2 separate regions of the Homo sapiens genome follow, and region 2 is linked to region 1. Evidence: promoter capture Hi-C in human tissues and cell types (Jung and others, 2019). All regions are on one chromosome and are shown on one strand. The core of a region is centred on a gene start or on the middle of the fragment in contact, and the rest is flanking DNA. Distances in the headings are between cores, read along the strand shown. Region 1 holds the start of CTTNBP2NL (CTTNBP2 N-terminal like). Region 2 holds the start of AP4B1 (adaptor related protein complex 4 subunit beta 1).

The links. Contacts are between HindIII fragments. The study calls those that stand out against the background at their distance.
Region 2: the fragment with the promoter of AP4B1 here is called in contact with the fragment with the promoter of CTTNBP2NL in region 1 in 1 of the 25 tissues and cell types used here (stomach).

What each region holds. Positions count from the first base shown.
Region 1 is chr1:112,392,483-112,398,442 of GRCh38, reverse strand. It overlaps CTTNBP2NL (CTTNBP2 N-terminal like), which reads right to left and starts at 2,229. Exons shown (of 6, transcript NM_018704.3): 1 at 2,171-2,229. RefSeq lists a silencer at 1,982-2,031. The HindIII fragment of the contact is 13,857 bases long and covers 1-5,960 here.
Region 2 is chr1:113,901,925-113,907,884 of GRCh38, reverse strand. It overlaps AP4B1 (adaptor related protein complex 4 subunit beta 1), which reads left to right and starts at 3,086. Exons shown (of 10, transcript NM_001253852.3): 1 at 3,086-3,280; 2 at 5,023-5,247. The coding sequence starts at 3,168. It overlaps DCLRE1B (DNA cross-link repair 1B), which reads right to left and starts at 2,559. Exons shown (of 4, transcript NM_022836.4): 1 at 2,110-2,559; 2 at 724-889. The coding sequence starts at 2,298. RefSeq lists enhancers at 2,671-2,720, 2,751-3,310, 3,391-3,450. The HindIII fragment of the contact is 11,361 bases long and covers 1-5,960 here.

The sequences.
Region 1 (5,960 bases), core at 980-3,479:
CTAGGAACTGTGAAAGATATAAAGATGAAAAACAAAAAATACTACTATCTGCCCTCAAAGAATTTATAATTCAAGGAGAGAGATCAGACATCTATCCTCTGCATACTATGCTTTTCTTCACCTAGCATGACCAAACAGGTGTTGAAAAGGTTAAAGGAAAGATTTTCAAGACCCAAAAGTGTAACAAACAGATCTTGCTTACTGTGCTAAATAATAAAAGAATATTATTTGCTTTTTCCTATTAAACCTCGGCAATCACAACTTTGGTTTGCTTAGTCTCTTACCTTAGTTTATTTTCTGTTCTCTGTTGATATAATACAACTTATCTTTTTGGGATTTTCTGTTCTGCTTTTAGTTTTTTCTGCTGTTATTGCTGGGAGCTCACGTCTTACCCTTCTATTGCAGCACACATTGCGTTTGCTAGAGACACCCTCCAGTTTCTTCTTTGTACTTTCTTACTGGAGATTTGGAAACAATCACTGAGAAGACCTGTGAGCACCGAGTGGCTCTGAAAACTTCAAACCTAACTATTCAAAAGTAATTATCTTTAGGAAGTCTACCTTCAGAAAGTCTAATCAAGAAGGTAAAAGACAACAGTCATTACAATCACCCTCCGTGATTCCAACTCCTTGCATTTTATTGCCATCAGCTTTGGCTATAGCTGACAGAGGGGAGGTAGACTTGAGATTGGAAGCAAAAGAAACTATGCTAAAAACATGGTAAATTTTAATATATAAAAGCGCTAGCAATAGATGATTACTGGGGATTCAACGACATTAACATGAGGTCAAAATCAACACTTTGCACCTGCTGAAATGAAGACCACTTGACAAAACCTTTAGGAGCACACTAGAAGAGGCACTTTTTGGTAAACATGAATAGCTAGAATACCTTGCCTTTATTTACTCTTATCTCTGAGATTTAAAAATTGTTCTTACTTTTCATCCTCTAAATTTTGATAGATGATCGTAAAACCAATCAAAATATACATGAATGTTTCCTGGGGGCGGGGAGGACACTATAAAAAAGGGGTTAGAGAGTTACCAAAGGACATAGGACTAGATTAATCATAAACCTAGATGACTGACCCTGAATTTTCTTCAAACACTTCCTGTCTTTTGTTTCAACCTGCAGTATACCTTCAAGGTTAACTGCAGTCTCCCTGAGCAATGGACCAGCCCACCCTAGACTGGGATATACTCATTCCTAATCCACTGCTACTTATTTACTTATGTATACTGTTTCATTTGAAAACATGGTGTTATTCATTGACTGTCAAGCAACATATACTGCATTCCTGCCCACACAAAGCCAGCTCTGCAGATATCCAACACACCCACCTCACTGTGAAATATAAGATGGCTTTTCATCAAGTTCTCAGGGAGGAAATAGGGTGGAAAAGGAAAAATGAAACGCAATTCAAACCTAAGAAACCCTTAGAGGCTGGGTGCTCCCAGAAGGAACAGAAAGTAGAAGGAAGGTACAAAGGGTGAAGGAGAGGAGGTCCTAGTTCTCCCTCTTTCACAGTCCAAAACAGTCCCAAAACAGGAGAGCTCTCGACTCCTCACAAGAGGCCAGAGGATGCGAGGGGCTGCGGGAGGAAGACTGAGCATCAGAGAATGGGGGATGGGAAGAACTTAAGTGGGAGAAGCCGCTTCCTCCGTAAAGCTGGCTGTCTAGGTCGGTCTTTGATTTTTGCTTCGCCCCATCCCTCCTTTTTGGGAAACACCAATTTTATCTTACGGAGGAAAGCAGCTCCAGTCCCACCCTGGCGAGCAGGGACAGGTGTAGGGAGGGATGTTTGGCCTTCCGGGGGTACGAAATGGGGTTGGGGGCGGCAGCCTAGAGAATCGGTACCTGTGAGTCCTCTCCGCCAAGGCTGAGGTGCGGGGTGGGAGGTGCCTTTGAATGAGGGGTGTCAGAGGGAAGCCCCTTCTGAGGAGCTGGGAATCGACGAGGGACAAAAAGTAGCTGTGAGGACCCTCGGAGGATGAGGAGCCGCCTCCTCGGGGAATACCGGGAGGTGGAGGAGACGGCCCCGCCCCCTCAGGGGATGGGCCCAGAGGCCGTTGAGACGGCGGCGGGAGGCTACCGGTGCCCCTATCCTTGCTTTGCTCTTGAGAACCCGGCCTCCCAGCCATCACCAAGCCCCAGGGATAGTTGCTCCTACCTTTCCACGACGCTCCGGGCTCCGCTCCCCTCCGCCTCCACTCCCCATCCACAGCGGCTGAGGCTCCGCCCCCTCAGCCGCCCGGCGGGGGCATTGGCATTCACCAGCGCCAATCGCCTCCTTGCTTCTCCAGCCTCGGCCCCAATCCGCGCCGGCTGGAGGCGGGGCTTCTCCAAAGTCATTCAGGCTCCTCCCGGGGCCCCAAGATCCCTTTTGTTTGGGAAGAGCAAGGCCGGGATTGAGCTCGCGTCACTTCCGGGAGGAAGCGCCCTCCTGGGTCCTGGGCTTCAGGGTGGGCTCGCGCCCCTCCCGGCTCGGGGTCTGCAACTTTCCACCTCTGCGTGAAAAGTCTGGGCAGGACCGTGACTAGTGCTTCGTGCTTTTACCTGACTGTACGCGGAGTTTAGGAATGGAGGGCTCTGGTGGCCTAATCGATTGGGATTTTATCCAGAATGTTAATAAATGAAGTGGGCTTTGGTGTCTGCATTAGAATGAATTCGTTGTTGAAAAACCTGGCTTCCTTGCTCCCTTTTTTTTTTTCTTTTTTCTGGAAGCGCCTGTGGGCGTGGTGCTGGAAGCAAGGGTGCAAAGATGAAACACCTGGAGATCACCCTTCTCTCAACCACATTTTGTACAGAAGAGGATACTAACTTTGGGGGACATAAACCCAGCCGACCTGCCTTCCAGGCGGAAGTCAAATAATTGCAAATTTGTGTGGCAGGTTTTTCCACCCTATGCTTGCCAGCTGAGGCGACTTTTTTCTTTCCTTGGCCTCATTATATTGTGGGGAATGGTGTTTGCAGTGAAGTTGAAACAATGGAGAGTACAGAGGATGCAAGGAATGTCTGCCTTGTGAACACAGGAATGCAGATCTTGGTGGCAGCAAGTCTTAGGCAGGACCAAATAACTCAGAGAGGGGAGTGGATGTATAACTAGTTGTATCCCTACCTAAGGTCAAAGTTTCTGAATTCCTTTTCCACAGAATGGCTGTCAGCTCACAGATTGATGCAGCTGGTTACATTTACAATAACCACATTATTTAAAATACAATATAATAAATATTTGAGACGAATATTCATAATGCATAAATAATGTAGTACACTTAATACATTATCCCTAAACTTAGCAATTATAATTCGCAAGACAGCATTAGGGACCTAGTGCTTGCCTAGGCAGACAGTCCCCAAGGCAGATGCAGCCTGCCTCATGCAGTTTACAGTCTGACTGAGGGATGTGATCAGTTTGTGCGATTATAGTCTGAAAGAAGTAAACAAGTATTTATCATGTTATCACTGTGCCATGTACTTTCATTTAATGGTATTTGATGTCATTTTCAGTGCTGTATGAGAAATCTATCCTACAGTGTAGGATAGACATCATTGTGTCCAATTTACAGATGAGAAGATAGAGATTCAGAGAAGTCAAATAAAGTCATAGAGCTAGTAAATGGTAAAGAATTTCCAGTAAGGATGTATGACTCCATACTTATGCCATATTCTGCTCACTTCACACTGGCTCTCACATGCTGGACTAAGAATGGGCGTGGATGATGGTAAAGCAAACATTAGAGCCAGAAGGACAGCTCTATGCCTCCCCCTGTTGATTTTAGGCTTGGGAGGGTCATCTCTGTATATGAAGGATAGCAAGACTATGAGTGAAGGTGCTCGATAGCAGTGTAAGTGAATCTGGAGTAATGATGCAGGGTATACTGAACTTCAGAAAGGCATTATGCCTTGTGTTCTGAAAACTGACAATCTGAAAGCTAAAATGAGGGGCCAGGCACAGAGTAGGTACTCAATAAATATTGACTTGAAACAAAATGTCTGAAATGATTACAAATACAGAGTGTTAGGTGCTGGAGCAGGCAAAGGAACTTGAAAAATCCCATTTCCTCCTCCTCCCTTTCGCTCTGCCTATGTGTATGCAATGAGGAAGTGCCTCATCGCCTGACAATGAAGCAGATGTGGGAGAACAAGCTATTTTCTGCTGGCTTCTGAGTCACTCTAAGAGTTGTTCTAGTGAATCAGCTCCTCCCTTGTTTTTCTTTTCTTTTTTTTTTTTTTTTTTATCGAGATGGAGTCTCGCTCTGTCTCCCAGACTGGAGTGCAATGGCGCAATCTCTCACTACAACCTCCGCCTTCTGGGTTCAAGCGATTCTCCTGCCTCAGCTTTCCGAGTAGCTGGGATTATAGGCGCCTGTCACTGTGCCCAGCTAATTTTTATATTTTTAGTAGAGATGGGGTTTTGCCATGTTGGCCAGGCTGGTCTCAAACTCCTGACCTCAGGTGATCCACCTGCTGGCCTCCCAAAGTGGCTGGGATGACAGGCGTAAACCACCATGCCCGGCAGGTCCTCCTTTCTTTCCCTCATTCCCTTTGTAGCTGTTAACCCACCACCACCCATTCTTTTCCCTGGCTGACTGGGTGGGAGCAGTGCTCTGTGACCTACTTCCTTTAGAGCAATGGGCAACTCCCCTGATTTCCTGGCTTCCCTTCTGCGTATTCCTAAATGAGTGTAGAAGGACTCAGCAAAAATGAGAACATCCCTGCCTTGTAGGATTCAGAGTCTTGAGGGTGTTCAGATTGCTTTCCTTTTAATTTTTCACCCCTAGAAGTAGGGAACAGGCAGGGCTTGTGAACCTCGTGTATCTTTCAGATTGTAGCAGTGAGAGAGTTATGGAGGTTTGTGATTCTTCAATACATAAACCTTGTAAATAAATTTAGAGTCTGGTGCATAGGTGTACGCAGAGGTAAAAAATGGTTCATAACAATATCTTAGATTTGTATAACAAAATATAACATTTTAATGTCTATCATTTTATCAACTGGACAGTAAAATATTTATTAAATGCCTATTGTGTCAGGCAACAACTTAAAGTGCTTAAAAATTATAGATTGTGTCAATTTTTTTCCAAATAAGTAAATTTCCATAAATGTTTATTGCTGGTTTGGGGAGGCAGCAATGGAGTAAAAGAGGTCTAGGCTAGAGGTTAAAAAATCTGGAGTCTAGTTCTTATTCTGTCATCAACTATAGTAGTTTCTATCTGGGCAGCTTAAAACAACAGAAATGTGTTCTGTCTCAGTTCTTGAGGCTAGAAGTACAAAATCAGGGTGTTGGACGAGTGCAGTGGCTCACTCCTGTAATCCTAGCACTTTGGGAGGCTGAGGTGGGTGGATCACCTGAGGTCAGGAGTTCTAGACCAGCCTGGCCAACATGGTGAAACCCCGTCTCTACTAACAATACAAAAATTAGCTGGGCATGGTGGCGGGTGCCTGTAATCCCAGCTACTTGGAAGACTGAGGCAGGAGAATCGCTTGAACCCAGGAGATGGAGGTTGCAGTGAGCCGAGATCGCGCCACTGCACTCCACCCTGGGCAACAAAGAGCGAAACTCTGTCTCAAAAAAACAAACAAACAAAAAAAAATCAGGGTGTTGACAAGGTTGGCTCCTTCTGGGGGCTCTGAGAGATGCTCCATCCCATGCCTCTCTCCCCTGGCTTCTGGTGGTTCCCAGTGATCATTGGCGTGTAACTACATCATCCCAATACCTGCCTCCGTCTTCACATGGCCTTCTCTCTATGTCTCAGCGTCTCTGTATGTCCTCTCCTCTTCTTATAAAGGCCCCACTCATGTTGTACTTAGAGCCTACTCTATTCCACCATGACCTCATCTGAACTCATGACATCTGCAAAGACCCTATTTCTAAATAAATTCACAGTCTGAGATGGGTGCACATGAATTTTGGGGGGACATCATTCGACCCGATACACAAACCTACTTGGCAAAGTAAC
Region 2 (5,960 bases), core at 1,837-4,336, 1.5 Mb before region 1:
GCACTGAACTAGGCAGTATAGCTGCATGGTTTCTTTGTTGTAATGTCTCCATCCTACTCCTATTTTTCAATTACTCTTCACAAGGTTCGGACCCTTAAAGAGTGGGAAATCGGCCAGGCGCAGTGGCTCACACCTGTAATCCCAGCACTTTGGGGGGCCGAGCCAGGTGGATCACCTGAGGTCAGGAGTTCGAGACCAGCCTGGCCAACATGGTGAAACCCCGTCTCTACTAATAGTAAATACGAAAATTAGCTGGGCGTGGTGGCAGGCGCCTGTCATCCCAGCTACTTGGGAGGCTGAGGCAAGAGAATCACTTGAACCCAGAAGGCGGAGGTTGCAGTGAGCCACAATCACGCCACTGCACTCCAGCCTGGGTGACAAGAGTGAAACTCCGTCTCAAAAAGAAGAAGGAAAAAAAAACAGTGGGAAATCAGTTGAGATGGGGTCACTATGCTCATATGTGATGAAGTTAGAAGGCCTCCAGCGCCTCCAGACTTCTATTGAGTTAAGGCTGCTCAAGAAAAGTCTGCCAGGTGTGGTGGCTTGTGCCAATAATCCTAGCTACTGTGGAGGCTGAAGCGGGAGGATTGCTTGAGGTCAGGAGTTTGAGACCAGCCTCGGCAACACTGCGAGGCCCCAGTCTATACATTAAAAAAAAAAAAAAAAAAAAAAAAAAAAAACATCTAGTCTGGAGAAGTCACTGGGATTCCTTGAGAGGCCCACCTGTGTAGAGGATGGTTCCAAAATATCCTTCAAAGAGAAACATGACAGAACCAGGACAGTGATTGGCATCGAGGAGGGTTACGGTCATGGTCTCTTGTCCAATTTCATCTAGGGGTAATACATGGCTCTCACCAACCTCCAGGGCTTGGATCCATTGCTTAGATACCTGAGAAAACAGTTAGTCATCCCAGTGACCACTGACTCCTCTCCGTTACCTCCCCGGGTCAGGGACTATCCCTTACATGAATCAGGAAAGCTGACCAAATCCTGAGCCACCGGGAGCAGAAGCTGTAATGGGGATTCCCAAGCAATCTGCCCTTCCTCCTTCCACTTCCCATCCCACCCTTTGTACAATTTAAGAGTTCAGCTGGCCGGGCGTGGTGGCTCACGCCTGTAATCCCAGCACTTTGGGAGGCTGAGGCGGGTGGATCACGAGGTCAGGAGATCGAGACCATCCTGGCTAACACGGTGAAACCCCGTCTCTACTAAAAAATACAAAAAAAATTAGCCAGGCGTGGTGGCGGGCGCCTGTAGTCCCAGCTACTCGGGAGGCTGAGGCAGGAGAATGGCGTGAACCCGGGAGGCGGAGCTTGCAGTGAGCCGAGTTTGCGCCACTGCACTCCAGCCTGGGCGACAGAGCGAGACTCCATCTCAAAAAAAAAAAAAGAGTTCAGCAAACAGTCTAGTCAGCAATTCCCAAACTTACTCCTGATCTTAATCTCTTGGAGACTTAAGGGTGGGGTGGGGAGAGAGCTGGAGAACCACCCAGCACATTAGGTGGATTCTTAAGATGAGGCAAGTTTAGGCGGGGCGTGGTGGCTCACGCTTGTAATCCCAGCACTTGGGGAGGCTGAGGCGGGCGGATCACTTAAGGTCAGGAGTTAGAGAACAGCCTGGCCAACATGGTGAAACCCCGTCTCCACAAAAAATACAAAAAATTAGCTGGGCGTGGTGGCGTGCGCCTGTAATCTCAGCTACTCAGGAGGCCGAGACAGGAGAATCGCTTGAACCCGGGAGGCGGAGGCTGCAGTGAGCCGAGATTGCGCCACTGCACTCCAGCCTGGGCAACAGAGCGAGACTCCGTCTCAAAAAAAAAAAAAAAAAAAAAAAAAAAAGGCAAGTTTGGGAAACATCGGCCTAGCTTACTTATAAAGGTAGGAATAGTTTCCTTGGCTGGATTAAAATATCTCCTCAACTTATGGCTAACTATCTCAAGTTGGTCACTTCGAAAACACGTTCCTATTCTGGGTTAAAGATGCATTTTTGGGTTCAAACAACTTCCAAATCAGTTTTCGTGGCCCCCATTCTATGACTCCAAGAATGACAGGTTGAAGTCCCAACCCAGATGCCTGGACCAGCTCTCGGAGACCGACTCCAGCCCCATACCTGTAGGTGACGATGCAAGAGGTGGGCTGTAATTGGGGAGCAGTAGAGGGGCCGGGCCCAGGTGCTAGACAGGCCCACGGTGTGGTCCGAGTGCATGTGAGACAAGAAGAAGAGACGTGCGGTGCCAGCCCGGCGCAGGCTCCAGAAGTCCACTGCGATGGGCGTATGGGGGATCAGGACCCCATTCATGGTGGTAGGGTTGGAGTCACCAGTGGGATCTTCTCCACGGGGGCAGGGCTCCTGCGTGAGGCTTCCACAACGGCGTCCCGATAAAAGTCATGCTGGGGCAAGAACAGGGCCAGAGACCCTAAGGGAAAGAGCCCAGCAGAGCAATAAGTTACCAGAGTGGGCAGAAAAAGGAAGTCACCCTGCCCGCTGGAGCCCAAATCGCGGAGGGCGCTGGACACTCCCAACCGCGCGGGAGCGGAGGCCGAGCCGGGCACTCAAAGCGCGCGCTGCAGGGAGGAGACAGGCCAAAGTAGCCGATTTCCGATTGCCCGCCGCAGCTCCACCAGAGGGAGCCGCGCAGCTGCGCCTGGAGAGTGAGAGGTTGGGGGAAGGGCATCCTAAGGTCGGAGTCGGGACTACGCTTAGCGCTCGCTCGCGGGGAGACCGGCAGCGGTCTTCTGTTTGGTCTCTTGACAAGGGGGCGGGACTTCCGCAGAAAGCAAGATTGGGCCTATCCGCGATGAGAACGGCGTGGAGGGGGAATTAAGGCTGGAACTGGAGAGGGAGGGGTCTGCGGTCAGTCGGACGCGGCGCTGGAAATCCGGCGGAGGACCTAGAAGTAGCGGGAGCGATCTGTGGGCGGGGCGAACGGCCTGCCGGCCGACGGTAGGGCCTGAAGAGCCTAGGGTGGGGCTCGCGGTGTCGCGGAGGGCGTGGAAGTGTGTCAGGGCCAGCGTGCCGGCCCTACGGAAGCCGAGCCTGAGGCGAGATCTCGCCTTTTGTATTTTCACTGACTCATATTTCCTTTACTCAGGCTCCCACATCAGGACGAGAAGGAGCCCTCGAGTTACCGTGGGAGCTGTGGGAGCTGCCCTGTGACTCTTAGGAAGATGCCGTACCTTGGCTCCGAGGACGTGGTGAAGGAGCTGAAGAAGGCTCTGTGCAATCCTCACATTCAAGCTGATAGGCTGCGCTACCGGAATGTCATCCAGCGAGTGATTAGGTATCACCTACCTCCCTTCGCGTGCTAACTGCTCCCTTTGCAATCCCCATCAGGGCTCACTAGCCCCAGTCTCTCTGAAAGGGTGAATTAGCTTTCACACGTGGCAGTTATATGGTTCGGTCTTCGTCCTGCTGCTTTGGAGTACCATGTCAGTCTCCCCTCTGCAGCATCTTTTACTCAGCTGGGTAGTTTCCTCCATATCACGGGCTTGAGCAATTACTGGTGACTCTTGGATCTATAATATAGCTAGTACAGACTTCCTTTTTTAGCTTCAGACCCACGTATCCCACTGCCTGCTTGGCATTTCCACGTGCGTGGTTTATCAAAAGTATGTCCGAAATAGCCCGGACATTCTTCCGTCTTCCTCAAACCTGTTCAGCTTACATTTGTGTTGATGAATGCCACCAGCAGCCGACTATGCGTGGGAGCCAACCTTGAGGACACCTGATCTCTCACTTCTTATGTCAGATGGTTTGAATTCATAATTCTAAATATCCATCCTCTCTTGTTTATTAGCATTGTTGTTCTGGTCCAGGCCTTCATCAATAAAGCAATTGCAGCAGCTTACTAGTAGGCCACTTTGCCTCATTTGAGACAGAATTTTTCCATTATACATACCTGAACACATAACTCTTGCCTACAGCTATGGTTCACAAACTTTACTATGCATAAAAATCCCTTGGGGTGCTTTTTGTCATCCAGTCCAGGGACTGATTCTGATTTCAGTAGGGTGGGAGGGAACCCAGGAATCTGTATTTTTAATAAACATTTCAGTTGGTTCCAGTAGGAGACCAGTCTGAGAAACAATAAAGTCCAAACTTATCACAGCACCCAAGGAACAAGCTGTTAATTCAACTACCTACAGACTCTTAAAAAAATGTGTGCTGCTCCTGCTCATGTCTACTTACCTCATAGCATGTATCTTTACCTTGCTATTACATCTGCCTAGTGAGCTCCTGCTCATTCAGCTAAAGTATTACTTCCTCTGTGAAGAAACATTTTCTGACTTCCTGCCAGTGTCAGACCTCTGAATCCCCTCTACACCTTGTACAATACTTCTGTTTAAGTACTTATCTATCATACTGTAATTAACGGTATTCTCATCTGGCTCATTAATAGATTTGAAGTTCCTAGAGGTTTGAGACCACACCTTCTTCAAGATTATGTCCCAAGAGCATGTCCCTGGATGTAAAAGTTGAATTTCACCAAAGTACTAGGGATTCAATAAGTGTTTGTTGAGGCTGGGTGCGGTGGCTCACGCTGGTAATCCCAGCACTTTGGGAGGCCAAGGCGGGTGGATCACCTGCAGTCAGGAGTTCGAGACCAGCCTGGCCAACATGGAGAAACCCCGTCTCTACTAAAAATACAAAAATTAGCTGGGCGTGGTGGCACGCACCTGTAGTCCCAGCTACTCGGGAGGCTGAGGCAGGAGAATCGCTTGAACCTGGGAAGCGGAGCTTATAATGAGCCGAGATTGTGCCACTGCACTCTAGCCTGGGTAACAGAGCAAGACTCTGTCTCAAAAATAATAATAAGTGTTTGTTGAATGAATAGAAGAATAATGTTTATTGTAGGCCTATGGTATGAAGTACTGTGTGATATAATAGACAAGGTAATCCTGGCTGCTACCCTCTAAGAGATCACAATCTAGTTGGGTAATCAGGAGATATGTAAGTAAAACTCCCTCCATTGTAAGTTGGGGATTTTGCATTTTACTTCCTTCTGTCATGTGCGTTGTTCAGGTACATGACTCAAGGCTTGGACATGTCTGGTGTTTTTATGGAAATGGTGAAGGCCAGTGCCACTGTAGATATTGTCCAGAAGAAGTTGGTTTATCTGTACATGTGCACATATGCTCCCCTGAAACCAGATCTGGCTCTCCTGGCCATCAATACGCTGTGCAAAGACTGCTCAGACCCCAATCCAATGGTGCGAGGGCTGGCGTTACGGAGCATGTGTAGCCTCAGGTGAGTACCCTCTTCTCTGTCTGGTCCTAAATGGCTGATGAATTCAAGTGATCACAGGGTAGGTTTTTAAAGAGGATAATTTATTTGAGCTCCTTAATACTGGGGAAAACATTATTGTACCCTGAACTCAGATTTTCAGCCACTGCTTTGGCTTAATAACCTGTATCATATAATTTTATTAGAGGGAGTTTTTGATTCTCACTCTAAGTAAAATAGTCCTCAGTTTTGGTTAAATATCTCTAAACAATTATGTGTATATCTTTTTTTGCTGCCTGTGCATCATTATTCCAAATGAAAAGTCAAATTAGGCTGGGCACAGTGGCTCATGCCTGTAGACCCAGCACTTTGGGAGGCTTAGACAGGAAGATTGCTTGAGCCCAGGAATTTGAGACCAGCTGGGCAAGATGGTGAGAGCCTATATCTACAAAAAATTAAATGGGCATGGTGACACGCACCTGTAGTCTCAGCTACTAGGAAGGCTGAGGCAGGAGGATGGCTTGGGCCCGGGAATTCAAGGCAGCAGTGAGCTATGATCGGGCCACTGGGTGACAAAGTGAGACCCCATCTTGAAAAAAACAAGAAAAAAACAGAAAAGTCAAATTATGGCTTTTTAAGCTTGATAGAGGCTTTCTGCAATTCTTCATGATCTGATGGGTGCAGCATCTACTAAACCATCTGTTAGGTGAACAGGGGCTGAGGTATGTCAAAATTAG